Linked DNA regions of Homo sapiens: regions 1, 2, 3 and 4 are each linked to region 5. The links are contacts of gene promoters, found by promoter capture Hi-C in human tissues and cell types (Jung and others, 2019). All regions are on one chromosome and are shown on one strand. The core of a region is centred on a gene start or on the middle of the fragment in contact, and the rest is flanking DNA. Distances in the headings are between cores, read along the strand shown.

Region 1 (2,882 bases), core at 41-2,540, 430 kb before region 5:
CCTTCATAACTCAAAAAACCCAGCCTCAGCCGAGCGCCTGGAATAGGTTAAGATCCCCCACGAAGTACAGACCAGCATTCCGAGCCTGCAGAGTCAACCAAAATACAGTTACTGAACACTATTGGAAATAACTTTATTTCAACAGGTCTTCCCATTTGTCATCACGGTGCGCACAAACTGTAAAGTCATCGTTTTTACAAACGGGGGGACGGAGGCTCGGGCTCTACAAAGGCTCGAACTCTCAGAGTCGTGGCCTCCTGGTTCTATCCATCAGAACCCACGGGTGATGGAGCCAGAGAAAGGTTACAGGAACTTCGAGATCTCCTGTTTTAAGTCTGAGGAAAGGGAGGGAGTGAGGATTTTCTGGGCCTCCCCAGAAGACGACGAGGAGGAAAAGCCCCGAAACCCCTCACTACGAGGTGCCGGCCTACGGGAAAGAAACCCGATCGCAGCATGGGAGCCTGCCACCGCCCGAAGACGAACTGCAGTGATTCCCACTCACCCCTCTCCCCCCACCATCATCCACGACTGTCCCCCACCTCAGGCCTGAGGAAGCCCATCGCTCTCAAAGGTCCTCCTTTGTGAGACTCCACGGCCGCCGCCCCACACGGGGCCTCCGGGGAAAAGCCACCGCCCCCACCCGCCATATTTCCCTGAAAGGCGCCCGCGCTACAGCTCCCGGTCTTCGCTCTCTCCCATGTGGCGGGTGCTGCTTCCCCCGTCACCCCACCCAATTGTTCTCCACATCCCAAGGCCGTCCCAGAAGCTCCCATGAGGGTGGCTCGTTCGGAGACAGCACCCGCCATCTCCTCCCCCTCCCCCGCCCCGGGACTCGCCCTCCCCCCAGCCGCCATTTTACAACCAACTCCTCCACCCCGTCGCCCCGGCCTCCCGGCCCGCGAGTTGTTTGCAGTTAAGGACGGCGAAGGGGTCACATTCCAGGGCATAGAGCCTCCCATCGCCCCGGGAGCTCCCAGGCCATTTCCTGCTTCCCGAACCCAAGCCCCCGGGCCAGGCTCGCAGACGATGCCGCCATTTTGTCTCCTGTTCCCGGCCTCTGTGGGCGGCGGCAGAGGGTCCGAGAATTCCAGCCCCCCGTTGCCCCCCCAACTCACCGTCGTATCGCTCAGCCTGCTCGGCCAGCTTCGCCTGGTACACCAGATCCTCTCGATCATCCATAGCGGCAGCGGCTCCGGCAGGGTCTGCGCGACGGATGGAAGCGGATAGTGTCTCCGACTCTCTCAGCCTCTCGCTCCGCGTCCGGGCAGCAAAAATGGCGGCGCCTCAATCCGGGACTTCCGCCTGCGCACGCGGACAACTGCTCAGCTCTATGGCAACCGCTCCCTGGCAACTGGCGCGGGGGGCGGGTCCTGGAACTCGGCGCCCGAAGCGGCTGGAACGAGCGCACGAGACGCCTCTCCTCTGTCGGCTCAGCGGGCGCCGGAGCCCAGAGGCGGGAACTGCGACTGCCGAAAGGGAGCGGCCCCCGGGGAACGAGAAGGGCTGAGGCGGGGCCGGCCGGGACTGCTCCTGAAAAAAGCCAGCGAGAGACCTGGGTCAGACCGGGGCCCGAGGCCCGACCTGCGGAAAAGAACGACGGAGGCTGTAACGGTTTCTGTCATGGCAGGTCTTCTTTCCCGAAATCTGAGGCTGTCACTACCGCGCCCTGGTTTTCTTTTCTTTTTTCTTTTTTCTTTTTTCTTTTTGAGACGGAGTTTCCCTCTTGTTCCCCAGGCTGGAGTGCAGTGGTGCGATCTCGGGTTACCACAACGTCCGCCTTCCCGGGTTCAAGTGATTCTGCTGCCTCAGCCTCTCGAGTAGCTGGGATTTCAGGCCCCCGCCACCACCCCCAGCTTTTGTATTTTTAATAGAGATGGGGTTTCACCATGTTGGCCAGGCTGGTCTCGAACTCCCGACCTCAGATGATCCGCCCCCCCTCGGCCTCCCAAAGCGCTGGGATTCCAGGGGTGAGCCACCGCGCCCAGCCCACGTCCTAGTTTTCTCGGCCAAGCCTGGTCATGGGCCTTTTTCAGACACTTTTAGACTCAGGGTAACGAACCGGGCCCTGGCCGGGCGCGGCGGCTCATGCCTGTCATCCCAGCACTTTGGGAGGCCAAGGCGGGAGGATCACAAGGTCAGGAGTTCGAGACCAGCCTGGCCAATATAGTGAAACCCCGTCTCTACTAAAAATACAAAAAATTAGCTTGGCATGGTGGTGCATGCCTGTCATCCCAGCTACTCAGGAGGCTGAGGCAGGAGAATCTCTTGAACCCGGGAGGCGGAGGTTACAGTGAGCCGAGATCCTCCCATTGCACTCCAGCCCAGGCGACAGTGTGAGACTGTGTTTCAAAAGAAAAATTATATATATATACAAAAATTAGCTGGGCGTGGTGGTGCATGCCTGTAATCCCAGCTACTCCAGAGGCTGAGGCAGGAGAATCGCTTGAACCCGGGAGTGGGAGGGTGCAGTGAACCGAGAGCACACCATTGCACTCCAGCCTGGGCAACAAGAGCACAACTCTGTCTCAAAACAAAGAAAAAGAAAAAAAACGAACTGGGCCCTGTTACAGTTGTCAGGGACAGGGGAGCTCCAGTTTTCACGCCTCAACTTTCCCCTCACACTGATCTTTGTCTTCTCCTGTTTAACCTTTTTCCCTCCCTAGGCCCACTATGAATAGGAGCAGGGAATTTGTTAGATGAGGGTGGTGTGGAGTACATGGTACAGAAGAGTTGGACCAAGATCAAATAAAGATTGTGGAGGCAGGAATAACTCAGTGAACATTGCTTCAGCTTCTGGCGCTTGGGAGGCCCATGCGGAAGGATGACTTGAGCCCAGCCTGGGCAACATAGCGAGACTCCATGTCTATAAAAACGTTTTTTTT
Region 2 (3,219 bases), core at 422-2,921, 390 kb after region 5:
CAGAGCCCCAATGATATTTACTCCAGGGTTAAGAGCTGATATGGTTTGGATTGTGTCTCCACTCAAATCTCATGATGAATTGTAATTTCCAGTGCTGGAGGTGGGGCCTGGTAGGAGGTGACTGCATCCTGGGGTGGTTTCTGATGGTTTAGCACCATCCTCCTGGTGCTATCTCCTGATGGAGCTCTCGGGACATCTGGTTGTTTTAAAGTCTGTAGCCCCTCCCCCTTCACTCTCTTCCTCCTGCTCCAGCCATGGAAGACGTGCCTCCTTCCTCTTTGCCTTCCACCATGATTGTGATTCTCCTGAGGCCTCCCTAGCCATGTTTCCTGTACAGCCTGTGGAACTATGAGCCAATTAAACTTCTTTTCTTTATAAATTACCCAGCCTCAGGTATGTCTTTATGGCAGTATGAGAAAGGATTAATACAACAGTAGATACCAAAGCACATTTAATGGATTTTACTTTAATGCCAGATGTAAAATATGCATTTGGAAATTATGCTTTCAAGAAAGTCACCTTAACAAAAAACAAGGAAAGACAGTAAGATTATGAGCAGTAACCTAGTTAACAGATGCCCCTGCCCTTGCCATTCAATCTTCATTGTCCAGGCTGACCTGCTGACAGATTATTCTTTTTTTTGAGACGGAGTCTTGCAATGTTGCCCAGGCTGGAGTGCAATGGGGTGATCTCGGCTCACTGCAAGCTCCACCTCCCGGGTTAACGCCAGTCTCCTGCCTCAGCCTCCCAAGTAGCTGGGATTACTACCATGCCTGGCTAATTTTTGTATTTTTTAGTAAAGACAGGGTTTCGCCATGTTGGCCAGGCTGGTCTTGAATTCCTGAGCTCAAGTGATCCACCTGCACTGGCCTCCCAAAGAGCTGGGATTACAGACGTCGGCCACGGCACCTGGCCTCAAATTATTCTTTGACTTGAACTTGATATAACGCATGTTTACTGAGAAGTTACAACAGGTCAGGGACTGTTTTAGATGTTCACAATGTATCAGTGGATAAAACAGACCAGAGACCCCTATAAGCAGGGAGCTTACATTCTTGCAGAATAGTAGAGGAAAATAAATAATAAACATATACACATTAATTATCTAGTATTTAGAAAATAAATCAATAGAATTGGAAGATAAAGAGTGCAGGTTTGGAGTAGAATGCAGCAGTGTTAAATAGGATGGTTGGGGCAGGTCTCACAGAAGTAACATTAAGCAAAGACTTATAGGAGGCGAGGTATTCACCAGACAGATGGCTGGATGCAGAACATTCCAAACAGAGAAAACAGCTAATGCGAAGGGCCAAAGGTGGGAGAGTCCCCAGCTTAGCAGAGAACTTGCAAGAAGGGTAGTGTGGCTGAAGCAGAGTAACCAAGCCATGGGGAGAACAGTCGTGAATGAGCTCAGAGAGAGGCAATGCGGGGGCGGGGGGGGGGGGGGGGGGCAGGAGAAGAGGTCCATATATGAAGGCCTTGTAAATAATGTGGCTTTTACACTGAGTGAAATGGGAAGTCAGTGAAGGATTTTGAACACAGCAGACTCTGTATGTAATGTGTCTGTGTGTGCATGTTTGGGAAGGAACGAGAGAGGTAAGGGGTACAAAAAGAGACCACTTAGGAGTTTCAAGACTTTCTTTCCAAGTTTAAAAAGAAGTTTTATCCACAAGGGGTATTCAGGCCATGTTTGCAAACACAGGTTTTCTCTTCCAATGAGGAATATTGAAGAATGTGTCAATGGCCTACAACTGTATCCCTAGCAGGCATCTGAAAAATAATACTTACGAAACATTTTCCTCTGCTCATTGCCCTGACATGAGTTCTGGGCATCACCCTCTCTCAGGGGAGAGGTGAAAAGAGGTTATGTGGAACAGACAGTGATAACAGGATGACGTCACAGGTGTGCCTCAAAGAAGTCCCTGGTGAGCTGGGCTCATAACTACTCTGCAGTGATTTATTCGACCCTGCCAGCTCCAGCTGGAGAAGAGATGCAGAAAGCTGACACAGCCTAAAGCCCTGGGCAGGCATTATAAGATCTTTCTCCCTGCAGTCCCCTGCCAGCTCCTCCCCTCTTTCAACCACTGATCCTTGCCTCAGAAGCCAAAGTGTGAACAGCACGTGTCCGGATTTCAGAAACCTGCCCAGCAGTTGGAAATTCCCTGCAGCGTGTCAACTGCTACATCTGCTGTTGGCACTTGGGGCAAAGGGATCACACGCGCATATTTTCTGAACATAAGCTTCAAGATATGAGTCTTATATTTGAAGAGGGGACTAAACAAGCCAGAACACTCCAATTACAGTAAATGCATTCCTAAATAGACGACAATCTGCCTTCTGAAAAGGAAACTGAGACATACAAGCAAACCGAATAGCACTAAGAACAGCAGTAGTCAAGAACAAAAGCACAGAGAACCCTGACTAATGGAAAGGATTTCATGGGCCAGCAAGGTTCACCAGATATATAATGTGATGTAGCTGAAACAACAGAGTACTCTTTTCCAAATCTCTAACTCACATCTTTTTGTCAATAAATGGCTCCTATCACTTCAGCTGCAGCCTTTCCTCTCCACTCCTTTGATCTTTCTTCCCCACCCAATTAGCCCTCTAAGTGATATTCTATACACTGGACACCTCTTGGAAAAATGAAAAAATGTGAGCCCAATGACACCATTTGCCATAAGACTGAGCTGTAAATGGGCAGGAGCTGGAAAAGAAACTAATCTTTGGAAGAGCAAACTACATGCCCTTGCCACCCTGGATGTAGGTGCCCAGTCACACTGCTCATGGGCATCACAGGCAGAGCAAAAAAAAAGAAAAGAAAAGAAAGAAAGTCTGAGTAAGTCTGATGGAACAAGGAAATCCCAGCTTCCTCTGGTAGTACGGCAGACTAGACACCTAGATCCATTCTCCCAATCAAACAGCTCATTATTCTGAAAAAAAGAGTATGTTAAACATCTTTTTGAAAAGCATTCGTGAGCTAGTAAAATAAAAGAAAATCCTTTGGTCAGAGATTGAATAAAGATGGGAAACCAGATAGGTAAGTGTGGCATTACAAACAGCCTTTACCCTAAGAACATTTGCTACCTGATGAACTCGAGCTTTGCTTTCCAAGGCTGCATGGACACAGCCAAGATCCTTATCATAAAGCTAGGGTCCCACAAGGCTACACCCCAAATACACCATTTCAGATTATGGAGTCTCTAAAATGCCATGTTGAAT
Region 3 (3,165 bases), core at 465-2,964, 310 kb before region 5:
AGCGAGACTTTTTTTTTTTTTTTTTTTGAGACTGAGTCTCACTCTGTTGCCCAGGCTGGAGTGGACTGGGATGATCTCGGCTCATCGCAGCCTCCGCCTCCCAGGTTCCAGCAGTTCTCCTGCCTCAACCTCCCAAGTAGCTGGGATTACAGGTGTGTGCCACCACATCTGGCTAACTTTTGTATTTTTAGTAGAGACGGGGTTTCACCATGTTGGCCAGGCTGGTCCTGAACTCCTGATCTCTCAGGTGATCCGCCCGCCTCAGCCTCCCAAAGTGCTGGGATTACAGGCCTGAGCCACCGCGCCCGGCCAAGGAGTTTTTAAGTAACAGGTTTCTCGACATCTCTCTTAAGAGTCTATGCTCTATGTCTGCGTAGTATTCCGTGAAAAATAAAGAGTACTCTCTGGGGAAAAGTCATCAGTTGGATATTTTCCACCTCAGCTTACAAGTCTTAGGGAAGCAAGAAAACTAGATAAGGGGCCTCAATGACACTGGATCCAGTCAGAGGCTCAGGAAAGAGAGACCTACAGATGTCTTTAGTGGAACAGTCAGTCACAGCAGCTCTTCAAGAAGCCTCAGACTGTGCGGAGCACAGAGCGGGCAGGAGCTACAGACCCTGCAGAGACCAGGAACAGCCTAGCATGAGTCCTAGGCACACGATGAGGAGTACCTGCAGCAGCTGGAGATCTGGAATGGCAGAGGGTACAGGGGGATGGGAGAAAAGGGCAGTTAATGCCAAAACATCTCTCCTCCAACAGACCCCGTCCTTAGAGGTCGACGTTCTCAAAAGCACTTCAAGAAATTCTTGGCCAGTTTAAAGCAACTTCCTGTCCCTCCCTGTTAGCATAAACAACACTATACAGAAACCACCTTCCCAGGCACTCGGCCTGAGATTTTGAGCTTCATTTGTTTACGATCTCCCCCTGCTGTCCGACAGAGGCTTAAGGAACAAAGACCTTTTACTCAGAGACTTCTTTTCCCAGACTCACTCTAAGAGGATGGAGAGCAAAAGTCCGGATTTCTTGTTCCCACTCTCAAATCCGACGATTAGCAGCAAATCCAAGCATCGTGACTTAGACTAAGTGGGCGATTAGCGTTGTTCCCCGTGAAAGAGCAGGCAAGAGACCAGGCTAAGTCACTTCCCTAAAGGATCTTATCTCAATCTGATTTCGGATTCCCGGGGTTCACCATGGGATCAGGCAGACCTCCTGATGTATGTGCTGATGAAAAGTAGGAAAAAGATTTCTAACCGAGAGCCGAAGGGTGACGGCCTCGTTATGTCTTTAACCTCAAACAACCCCACACGGCTGTCCTCTCCAGAAAGCAACCGGGACACCTGCTGCGCCCCAGTGGGAACGAGCTTGGCGGCCTCGGCTTAGAGGGGGCGCGAGGCTCGGGCCCAACACAGCCCACCTGACACAGGCGTGGGAGAAGGCGAGAGCGCCTCTGAACCAAAGGCAGTCATGGAGGTCTGGTGCCTTGTCCACCCCCAGCCCGCAGCCCAAGGGGCGCCGATCCCCCCGAGCAGGCCTGCCTCTGCCGCCAGGGTGCCCTCACCTGAGCCTCCTGCCTTTCGGCCCGCTCAGCTTCCGCGAGCTCATGGCCGCCGTCGTCCCCGCGCGGTGGTCCGGCAGGTTCGCGTCTCCCGGCCAGCGGGTCCCGGCCAGAGCAGCCCTGCGGGCGGCCGGTCTCACGCGCCTAGCTGTCGCGGACTGTTTTTCTTCCGGACTCCGACCGTCCGCCCCGGCTTCCGTCAGAGACGCGCCCTCCGCGCACCCCGGGATCTGGGTGGTGCGGTTCGCAGAAGGAGGCGGGACTCTCCCACGAGCGCAAAGCTGCGAGAGGCTGAGCGAAGACGGGTTCGCGGACGTAAGAGGGGCGTGTCGGGCCTGTCATCAGCGCACGCGCAACACTGCCCCAGACGACGCGAGGTGTGCGGCCGCCACTAGACCCGGCCCAGCCCGCGCCCGCCGTCCGCAGCTCCCAGCGTGCCCCGCGCCAGGGGCCGTCTTCCGGCGGAAGTTGTCTCTTCGCCGCCGCCGCAGCCTCTGCCCCACTCGTGAGGGATCCGAGGGCTCCGTCCTTGTGCTGTCTTCGCCCCGGCTCCCAGGGGTCAAACGAGGGTCGGGGGTGGGGACACGCAGCCTAGCCACTGTCCTGCCTGGGATCCGGTCTCCCCCGCCCCCCGGCTGCAGGTAATCTCCCCATTCCTGCTACTGCGGGAGCGCCTCCGTTCTCCACGCCCACTTTCAGGCTTCTACTCCAAACTTATTGGATTACCTATTGCATATGGGACGTTTGGGGATTCCTGGACTCCTACAGAATTAGCCGTCAATAAATGAAACGTAGGCCGGGGCGCGGTGGCTCAATGCCTGTAATCCCAGCACTTTGGGAGGCCGAGGCGGGCGGCTCACTTGAGGTCAGGAGTTTAAGACCAGCCTGGCCTTAACATGGTGAAACCCCGTCTCTGCTAAAAACACAAAAGCTAGCTGGGCTTGATAGCGCGCGCCTGTTAATCCCAGCTACTCGGGAGGCTGAGGCAGGAGAATCGCCTGAACCCGGGAGGTGGAGGTTGCAGTGAGCCGAGATTGCGCCACTGCACCCCAGCCTGCGCGACAGAGCGAGACTTCGTTTCAAAAAAAAAAAATAATAATAATAATTAGCCGAGATGGGGTTTCGCCATGTTGGTCAGGCTGGTCTCGAACTCCTGACCTCAGCTGATCCACCCGCCTCGGCCTCCCAGAGTGCTGCGATTTCAGGTGTGAGCCACCGCGCCCGGCCTAAAACTACTTTAAATAAATGTTTTGCTTGTTTGGTAGGGTGGATAAAGAGGAAGATGTGAAGAGGAGGCAGACAAAAGCAAAAGGACATCCTGTCAGTAGGAAACGGCCGAATTACAATTCAGATGTGCAATGTTTGCATAAGTAAACTGACACGGGACTATTATATGCAGAAATCCACGTGCAAAAATTTTCAGACACACCTTTGTACCTCTTCCTAATCCTGCCCTGGTAAAATGGCGGTTATCAGTGCAAGTTTGAGGATACATACAGCTGGAAAATGGACATCACCAAACTGGACTCCAGAAAGTTCTGTCTAGGATTTTATTAGACTGCTTTTTTTCTCAATATACCTGTATTGGAAGATTGAGACAAAAAGGCACA
Region 4 (3,291 bases), core at 160-2,659, 260 kb after region 5:
CGTCCGTGGCCAGACGTGCCACAGGGGACGGCCCCTTCATCCTCACTGACTAGCCCCTGCCTCTCTTTTAATGCATCCTCGTTTCTTAGTGTGAAAGGAACTTCACAGTAATAAGCCTTCTATCTGCAGCACATAGGGAAGTACTAACCTGGAGACTACTGATGATCATTTTACAGGTGCAGGTGTTCTCTCTCTCATGTGGACAGCAACCCCTCTGGTGGCAAAGCCTAAATCTCATCGTTTTCGTACGTCACTGGCAAGAATTGTAAGGACAAGCTGTGCACACAGTAGGCTCACAGTAAAGACGGACAGCCCAGGGAAGCTCGGCTGGGTACCACAGAGAGCAGATGAAGCAGGCATGACCCATGTTCTCTAAGACAGTGGAAATAAATGAGCACCGCTGTGCAGGCTGGCTGCCCAGGAAAGTGCGGCACACACCGGTCAACTGTGTGCTCTGTGGCTGCATCCTCTGCCACCTTCACCAAAAAGCCAACCCCGCTTTCCTACACGGTCTAGGAGTGTTCTCTGCTTTCTCTCACCATTGGCCCTGTTACCATTATAGGCTGGAATCTCAAGCTAAGTACTTTGACCACCTTCACCTGAGAGGTTGATGTAGAAGGTTCTCGGCTACCCAGAAGGGCTTAGAAAAAGTTCAGCCCCTTGAGCTTGGGGTGCCTGGTCCTGGGCTTGCCTCCGTGAAGGAGAAGGGAAGCTTGTCTTGGCCCAGGGCAGGTAAGCCTGGTTCCATTGCGTGTATTCAAACATGTGATGAGGAAGGCTAGAAATACAGAAGCAGGGGCTAAAAGGCATTAAAGAACAGAGCCGAAATGAGTAATAGCCTGGCAGGCAGCACGCACAGTGGCCTCCCTGCATCTCCAGCCTCTCACTTGCATAGGAAACTTCTGCATTTCCACAAGACTGCCAGTTTCCTCTCTGTGGTCTAATTTTAACCACCTTGTCGTTACAGTGTGTGTCAGCCACCTGACCCCACTATGACCTCTGACCTTACGCCCCAGCTACTGCTTGCACTATGGAGAATTATGTAATGGGTCCAGGATTTTCCTTCTTGGTGTGAGGCTGCTGCCACTGAATGGAGAGGAGAGGGGAGCTAAGGAGTGAGAAGAGGACAGAGGAAAAGCTTGCAATTGTCCTTGGCCTCACCTGGACGATGAGAGGTACACTGGCACCCCTGCTAAGTGTGCAGAGGAAACCTGCCCAGGACAGGAGTGTGCCACGGACACATGCACAGACAGGCGGGCAGGAGTGTTGCTGCTGCTAGAGCACGGGCTACATGGTATGCTGCGTGGCTAAGAAAGCATGGTTTCTGGCCGACAGGGAGAAAAGCCACATGTGTGGATGTGGGACTCCTGGAGATGGGGATTTCCAGGGCACAGCAGGACCCAGGGATGTGGACATCCTGAGGCCACCTGCAGCACTTCCTTACAGGGTCTGTGGGAATTGCCTATTCCATGGACACAAGCAACGAGGAGTAGCCCTCTCCCAGTTTTCATTTCCGCCCCATTTAGAAGGAAATTGGTTTCCTTGGGGATTGTGTCTGTCATAGCTATTAGTTCCTTCTCTAGGACAAGGACAACTGCTGGCTGATATGCAAAAGGCTGTGATCTACTGGGGTCTCTGACCTGGTGTTAACAGGCCTGGAAAGGATTCTACCTGTTTGGAGAGAGAAAGGTTGTCTGTCTTTTGGAAGAGTACCCTGTCCTTTGCAATCCAAGCAGCAGGGAGGATGGTCAAAGCTGTGTAAAGTGTACTGTGGGAGTGAGAAGTGCACAGTCTGAGCTCTTTAGTAGATGGAGAAACTGAGAGGCAGAATGTCCAGGGCTTGCCCAGAGGCACAGAGAAACCTTCTGTCTGTAGCTCACTGGCCTGTCTGCAAAAGCATTCTGTCTTAACTTGGGGGGAATAAGCCCACTGGGGAGAGGACCACCGCTCTCTTGATGCTGGAGTTCTGTAGGAGACTTACGGGAATATTCTCCTAGACAAAGCCTCCAGCACTTGAGTCAGGGAAAAAGCAACACAAGACAGTTTAAATACAGTTAATAAGAGACTTCATAATGAAAGAAGCCTTTCAAACCACTGACAAAAAGCCAATTCCAAGATGATCTTTGCTTGGTCTAGGAGGACTTCCTGGTAGGAGAGGGGTTAAAGCTGGACTCCCTGCTTGGAGAGGAAGGACTCCAGATGAAGTCTGTGACATCATCCCCACAGTTAACTCTGCTCGTGAGCACATTTTTCCACTCTATATCAATGAAAACCAGAGAATGTAAGTGGCATGTATATCGCAGCTCTGGGGGCAAACTCTGGATCCTCCAGAGGAGAAAGAGCTGGGCGGGAGAGGCTCCCTTCCTGGGCTACATTAGCACGTGGGGCTGGACTGGGGATAGAGGCGACTAAAAGGGCCGCCAGCCAGGGAACACCCTGGGGAGCCTACGGACCTCTCCTCTGCGGTGTACCTTCTCAGTCACAGTCCTGACCCTTCTGGAGGGAGATGCACTGTGTAGGCGATTGTCAAGAATTCCCAAGTTAATTGACAAAATATCACATACAAATCATTTCAATCAGCTTGGGAAAGAAAACTGGGGCTTTAGGTCAGGGAAGAGCTGAAAGAAAGCCCCTTTCCCTTCCCCTGAAGATTGTCGGAGGCAGCTTACCACTGCAGCAGGAACTGAAACCTTTAGCTTTAGGGCTCCAGTTATCACTCTAATCAAGTCCACACGCAAAGAACCAAGCAGAAAGGAAAACTGAAAGTGAGATGTGGAGAGGCGATACCGGAGGCTGTTCTCTCCTAGGCTCAGTTCCTTAGAGAGAGATAATGTAAGCATCGGGTAAGTAGGGGCTGGAGCCAAGGGGAGCGAGGAACAAAGGAGAAAACCTCTAGGTCAAGAGAGTAGACTGGGTTACTGTTCTGGGGTATTTAAGGTGGAGAGGTGGAGAAGTAAAGAAAAATGGTGTTTCTTGACTGGGCACGGTAGCTCACGAATGTCATGTCAGCACTTTGGGAGGCCAAGGTGGGCAGATCACCTGAGGTCAGGAGTTCAAGACCAGCCTGGACAACATGGTGAAACCCCATCTCTACTAAAAATACAAAAATCAGCCGGGTGTGGTAGTACATGTGGTAGTCCCAGCTACTAGGGAGGCTGAGGCAGGAGAATCGCTTGAATCTGGGAGGTGGAGGTTGCAGTGAGCCGAGATTGCACCACCGCACTCCAGCCCAGGCAACAAGGCGAGACTCTGTCTCAAAAAAAAAAAAAAAAAAAAGGAAAGAAGAAAAAA
Region 5 (3,328 bases), core at 18-2,517:
TCACCCAGGCTGGAGTGCAGTGGCACCATCTCGGCTCACTGCACCCTCCGCCTCCCAGGTTCAAGCAATTCTCCTGCCTCAGCCTCCGAGTAGCTGGGATTACAGATGCGCGCAACTACGCCCGGCTAATTTTTGTATTTTTAGTAGAGACGGGGTTTCACCATGTTGGCCAGGCTGGTCTCGAACTCCTGACCTCAGATGATCCGCCAGCCTTGGCCTCCCAAAGCGCTGGGATTACAGGCGTGAGCCACCGCGCCCGGCCTGATCCCTCTCTAGTTTCTCTGAGACACATCCCAGATTTTTCTTTCTCACCCACCCCAGCAACTATTCATTTAACAAGGTATTTCCCTCTCTTACATAGTTCAGCGTTCTGATTAAGTCCTCACCATCTCGTCTGGCATTCTTCCTAGAGTGTTATAATTAATGTCCATGCCATTGGCACCACTCCCCACTTTCAATCCAGCCTCCAACACTGAGACAGAAGTCAGTGCTCTGCCCTTAAATTCATCAACGCTACTCCAAGCATACCAGGAAGCCCAGGACAAAACCATCCTTACTTGACCCTTGTCTGACTTTCTAATTCTCAGGTGTCACTTACTCCTCTGCATGCACCCTTGCATACTGAACAACTCATTGCTATCCCCGGCTTGCCAGGCTATTTCAACTCTCCAATGTTTTGGCATAGGCTACTCATGCTTTCCGGACCAACCCTACCCTGGCTTATGGAGTCCACCTGGAAAATTCCCACACGTTCTTCGACTCGGCTCAAATGGCACCTCCTCCGGGACGGCGTCCCTGATTTCCCAGCTGTGATTCCAACACCCTTGGGGCCTGTACCACGTCTACCTGGAGGTGGGGTTACTGACGGCATAAAGTGCCCCCACACACTGTCCTCTTCTCTAAGGACGGGGGCCGGGTCTGATTCCCTTTCGGAGACCCCCCACCCCCACCCCCCACCGCCACGGTGCCAAGCTCAGGGCTTGGAGGCGGGAAGTCAGCCCCGCGTTGCTGGACGAATCGGGTCACTACTGCGACTCTATTTAGCAGCGGAGGTCTCAAGGAACAGCTTTAACCTCCTCTGGGATACCAACCCGTGCACTCGCCAGAGACCGAGGCGAGAACGCCTCGAGAACCGCTCAGACGCGCCCGGAACTGCGCCCTGGTCTCCCTCCCAGCGCCCGCGCAGCTCCTGGCGCGCCCCTTGGCGCCCCGCTCCGCCCCGCACCGCGTCCGGCGTCCCGCGCCAGGCCTCGCTTGGGACCATGGGTGGGTCACGTGGGCCGCGCCTCGGCCAATGCGGCGGCTGCGTAGCGCCCGGGCCCGCCCCTGAGCCGCGCGCACGTCGGGGGCGGGAGCGGTGCGCGCAACTTCTCGGGCCAATAACTGCGCAGCGCGCGGGACCCGGGTGGGGAAGCTGGAGCTGTTGCGGGGTCCGCGGGGAAGTCTTGGCGGTGGAGCCATGGTCGGCCAACTGAGCGAGGGGGCCATTGCGGTGAGGAGGTGCCGGGGGCTGGGCCGGCGGTCCGGGGTGGCTGCGGCCCCGAGCCTCGCGGAGTAGAGAGGGGGAGGGGAGCCCGGGGCGACGGGGGATGAACGCGAGGGGAGGAGATGGCGGGGGGCGGTGGGGACCCGCCGGGCGTCCCTCTAGTGTCATCGCCCCCTCCTCAAAGCATTCTTTCGATCGTCTTTAAAACATGCTCACATTTTTCCTACGTAAGAACAAACTAAATAAACGCTTGCCTTTCTCTGCATCTTCCACCTGCGGACACTTTCTGTCTCTTCTCCTTTCCCCACCCACAGCCAAACTTCTTGTCTGGTTTCAGCCACTTCCTTTCCTCGCCTTTCATCAACTCTTTAACCCACTCCAGTCATCCCTTTGATCGCTGTAGAAAACCCTGGCTGAAGGTACCAGTGGCCTCCAAGTTGCTAAATCCAGCCCTTTTCCGTTTTCAGCTTACCTGAGTTCTCAGCAGCGTTTGCGTTTAAGCCCTGCTTGCTTCAGGTCACACCCTCTTCCTTGGTTTTTAGTGGCTCAGCTTGGCAGGTCTATCCCCGTCTTATTTGTAAGTCCCTCTTTGTAAATTTTTGTTGAATCAAGGCTCCCTCTAGGCCCTCTTGACTCCCGAGGCAATTTCTTTTTTTTTCTCCAGCCTGGGCGACACTCACTGTCGCCCAGGCTGGAGTGCAGAGGCGCGATCTCGGCTCACTGCAACCTCCGTCTCCCGGGTGCAAGTGAGTCTCCTGTCTCAGCCTCCCGAGTAGCTGGGACTACATGTGTGCGCCACCACACTCGGCTACTTTTTGTGTTTTTATTAGAGACTGGGTTTCATCATGTTGGCCAGGCTGATCTCGAACACCAGACCTCAAGTTATCCGCCCGCCTCGGCCTCCCAAAATGCTGGAATTACAGGCATGAACCACCGCGCCTGGCCCCAAGGCAATTCCATTGCCATCTATTAATATATGTCAGTTGCTCACAAATTTCTTTGTACAGAGCCACCTTTACTCTAAAAGACAAACTTCCGTCATCTGTCTGCTTATTCCATGCTTCAGAGGGTTTTAAGTTCAGTATACGTATCCCAAAGCAAATTCTTTATCTTTCTAAGTCTGGGCCTCTTGATCCCTATCTCCACGGATGGCACCATTATCTATTCAGTTCAGTGCTAACCAGAAATTGAGAAATCATTCCTCCTATATTGTCCATTACCTGGGCATCCAGTCCCTCACGAAGTGAAGTGTATTTTGCCTCTGCGTAGATCTATCAAGCCCACTGGCTTCTCTCCATCCATACTGGCACCGTCTTTTTTTTTGCCTGAGCTGCTGACTTCCACTCAGCATACGTTCCTGCCACCATTCCCATCCACAGCATACTCTCAGCCTACCTCTCCAGTCACCCCCACATTTTTTTTTAAATTTAGATTTCTGGTATATTCCATACTCCTACCTTCTTCCATGGGGCCTTTGAACTTTTTTTTTTTTTTTTGAGCTGGAATCTTGCTCTGTTGCCCAGGCTGGAGGGCAGTGGCGCGATCTCGGCTCACTGCAAGCTCTGCCTCCTGGGTTCACGCCATTCTCCTGTCTCAGCCTCCCGAATAGCTGGGACTACAGGTACCCGCCACCACGCCCGGCTAATTTTTTGTATTTTTTAGTAGAGACGGGGTTTCACCGTGTTAGCCAGGATGGTCTCGATCTCCTGACCTTGTGATTCGCCCGCCTCGGCCTCCCAAAGTGTTGGGGTTACAGGCGTGAGCCACTGTGCCCGGCCTTTTTTTTTTTTTTTTTTTTTTTTTTGAGGCAGAGTCTCACTCTTTCTCCCCATACCCCCCCAC

Evidence for each region. Contacts are between HindIII fragments. The study calls those that stand out against the background at their distance.
Region 1: a contact is called between the fragment with the promoter of YWHAE here and the fragment with the promoter of SMYD4 in region 5, in 1 of the 25 tissues and cell types used here (bladder).
Region 2: a fragment that was not itself captured here is called in contact with the fragment with the promoter of SMYD4 in region 5 in 1 of the 25 tissues and cell types used here (dorsolateral prefrontal cortex).
Region 3: the fragment with the promoter of INPP5K here is called in contact with the fragment with the promoter of SMYD4 in region 5 in 1 of the 25 tissues and cell types used here (hippocampus).
Region 4: a fragment that was not itself captured here is called in contact with the fragment with the promoter of SMYD4 in region 5 in 1 of the 25 tissues and cell types used here (dorsolateral prefrontal cortex).

What each region holds. Positions count from the first base shown.
Region 1 is chr17:1,398,932-1,401,813 of GRCh38, forward strand. It overlaps YWHAE (tyrosine 3-monooxygenase/tryptophan 5-monooxygenase activation protein epsilon), which reads right to left and starts at 1,291. Exons shown (of 6, transcript NM_006761.5): 1 at 1,116-1,291. The coding sequence starts at 1,179. RefSeq lists enhancers at 1-513, 514-1,151, 1,152-1,789, 2,732-2,882. The HindIII fragment of the contact is 19,322 bases long and covers 1-2,882 here.
Region 2 is chr17:2,221,120-2,224,338 of GRCh38, forward strand. The region is part of intron 10 of SMG6 (SMG6 nonsense mediated mRNA decay factor); the gene reads right to left. Among named protein-coding and RNA genes, the nearest start is that of SMG6, 81 kb to the right of the region's middle. The HindIII fragment of the contact is 7,215 bases long and covers 1-3,219 here.
Region 3 is chr17:1,514,898-1,518,062 of GRCh38, forward strand. INPP5K (inositol polyphosphate-5-phosphatase K) reads right to left here and starts at 1,715. Exons shown (of 12, transcript NM_016532.4): 1 at 1,559-1,715. The coding sequence starts at 1,602. It overlaps PITPNA (phosphatidylinositol transfer protein alpha), which reads right to left. Exons shown (of 12, transcript NM_006224.4): 12 at 2,821-3,165. It overlaps PITPNA-AS1 (PITPNA antisense RNA 1), which reads left to right and starts at 2,022. Exons shown (of 2, transcript NR_028514.1): 1 at 2,022-2,196; 2 at 2,821-3,165. RefSeq lists a silencer at 1,801-2,100. The HindIII fragment of the contact is 13,245 bases long and covers 1-3,165 here.
Region 4 is chr17:2,086,927-2,090,217 of GRCh38, forward strand. The region is part of intron 13 of SMG6 (SMG6 nonsense mediated mRNA decay factor); the gene reads right to left. SMG6-AS1 (SMG6 antisense RNA 1) reads left to right here and starts at 2,812. Exons shown (of 2, transcript NR_199038.1): 1 at 2,812-2,843. RefSeq lists enhancers at 1,013-1,062, 2,424-2,603, 2,614-2,713, 2,734-2,833, 2,864-2,943. The HindIII fragment of the contact is 6,247 bases long and covers 1-3,291 here.
Region 5 is chr17:1,828,635-1,831,962 of GRCh38, forward strand. It overlaps SMYD4 (SET and MYND domain containing 4), which reads right to left and starts at 1,268. Exons shown (of 11, transcript NM_052928.3): 1 at 1,092-1,268. RPA1 (replication protein A1) reads left to right here and starts at 1,371. Exons shown (of 17, transcript NM_002945.5): 1 at 1,371-1,492. The coding sequence starts at 1,460. RefSeq lists a silencer at 1,120-1,639 and an enhancer at 2,267-2,767. The HindIII fragment of the contact is 28,265 bases long and covers 1-3,328 here.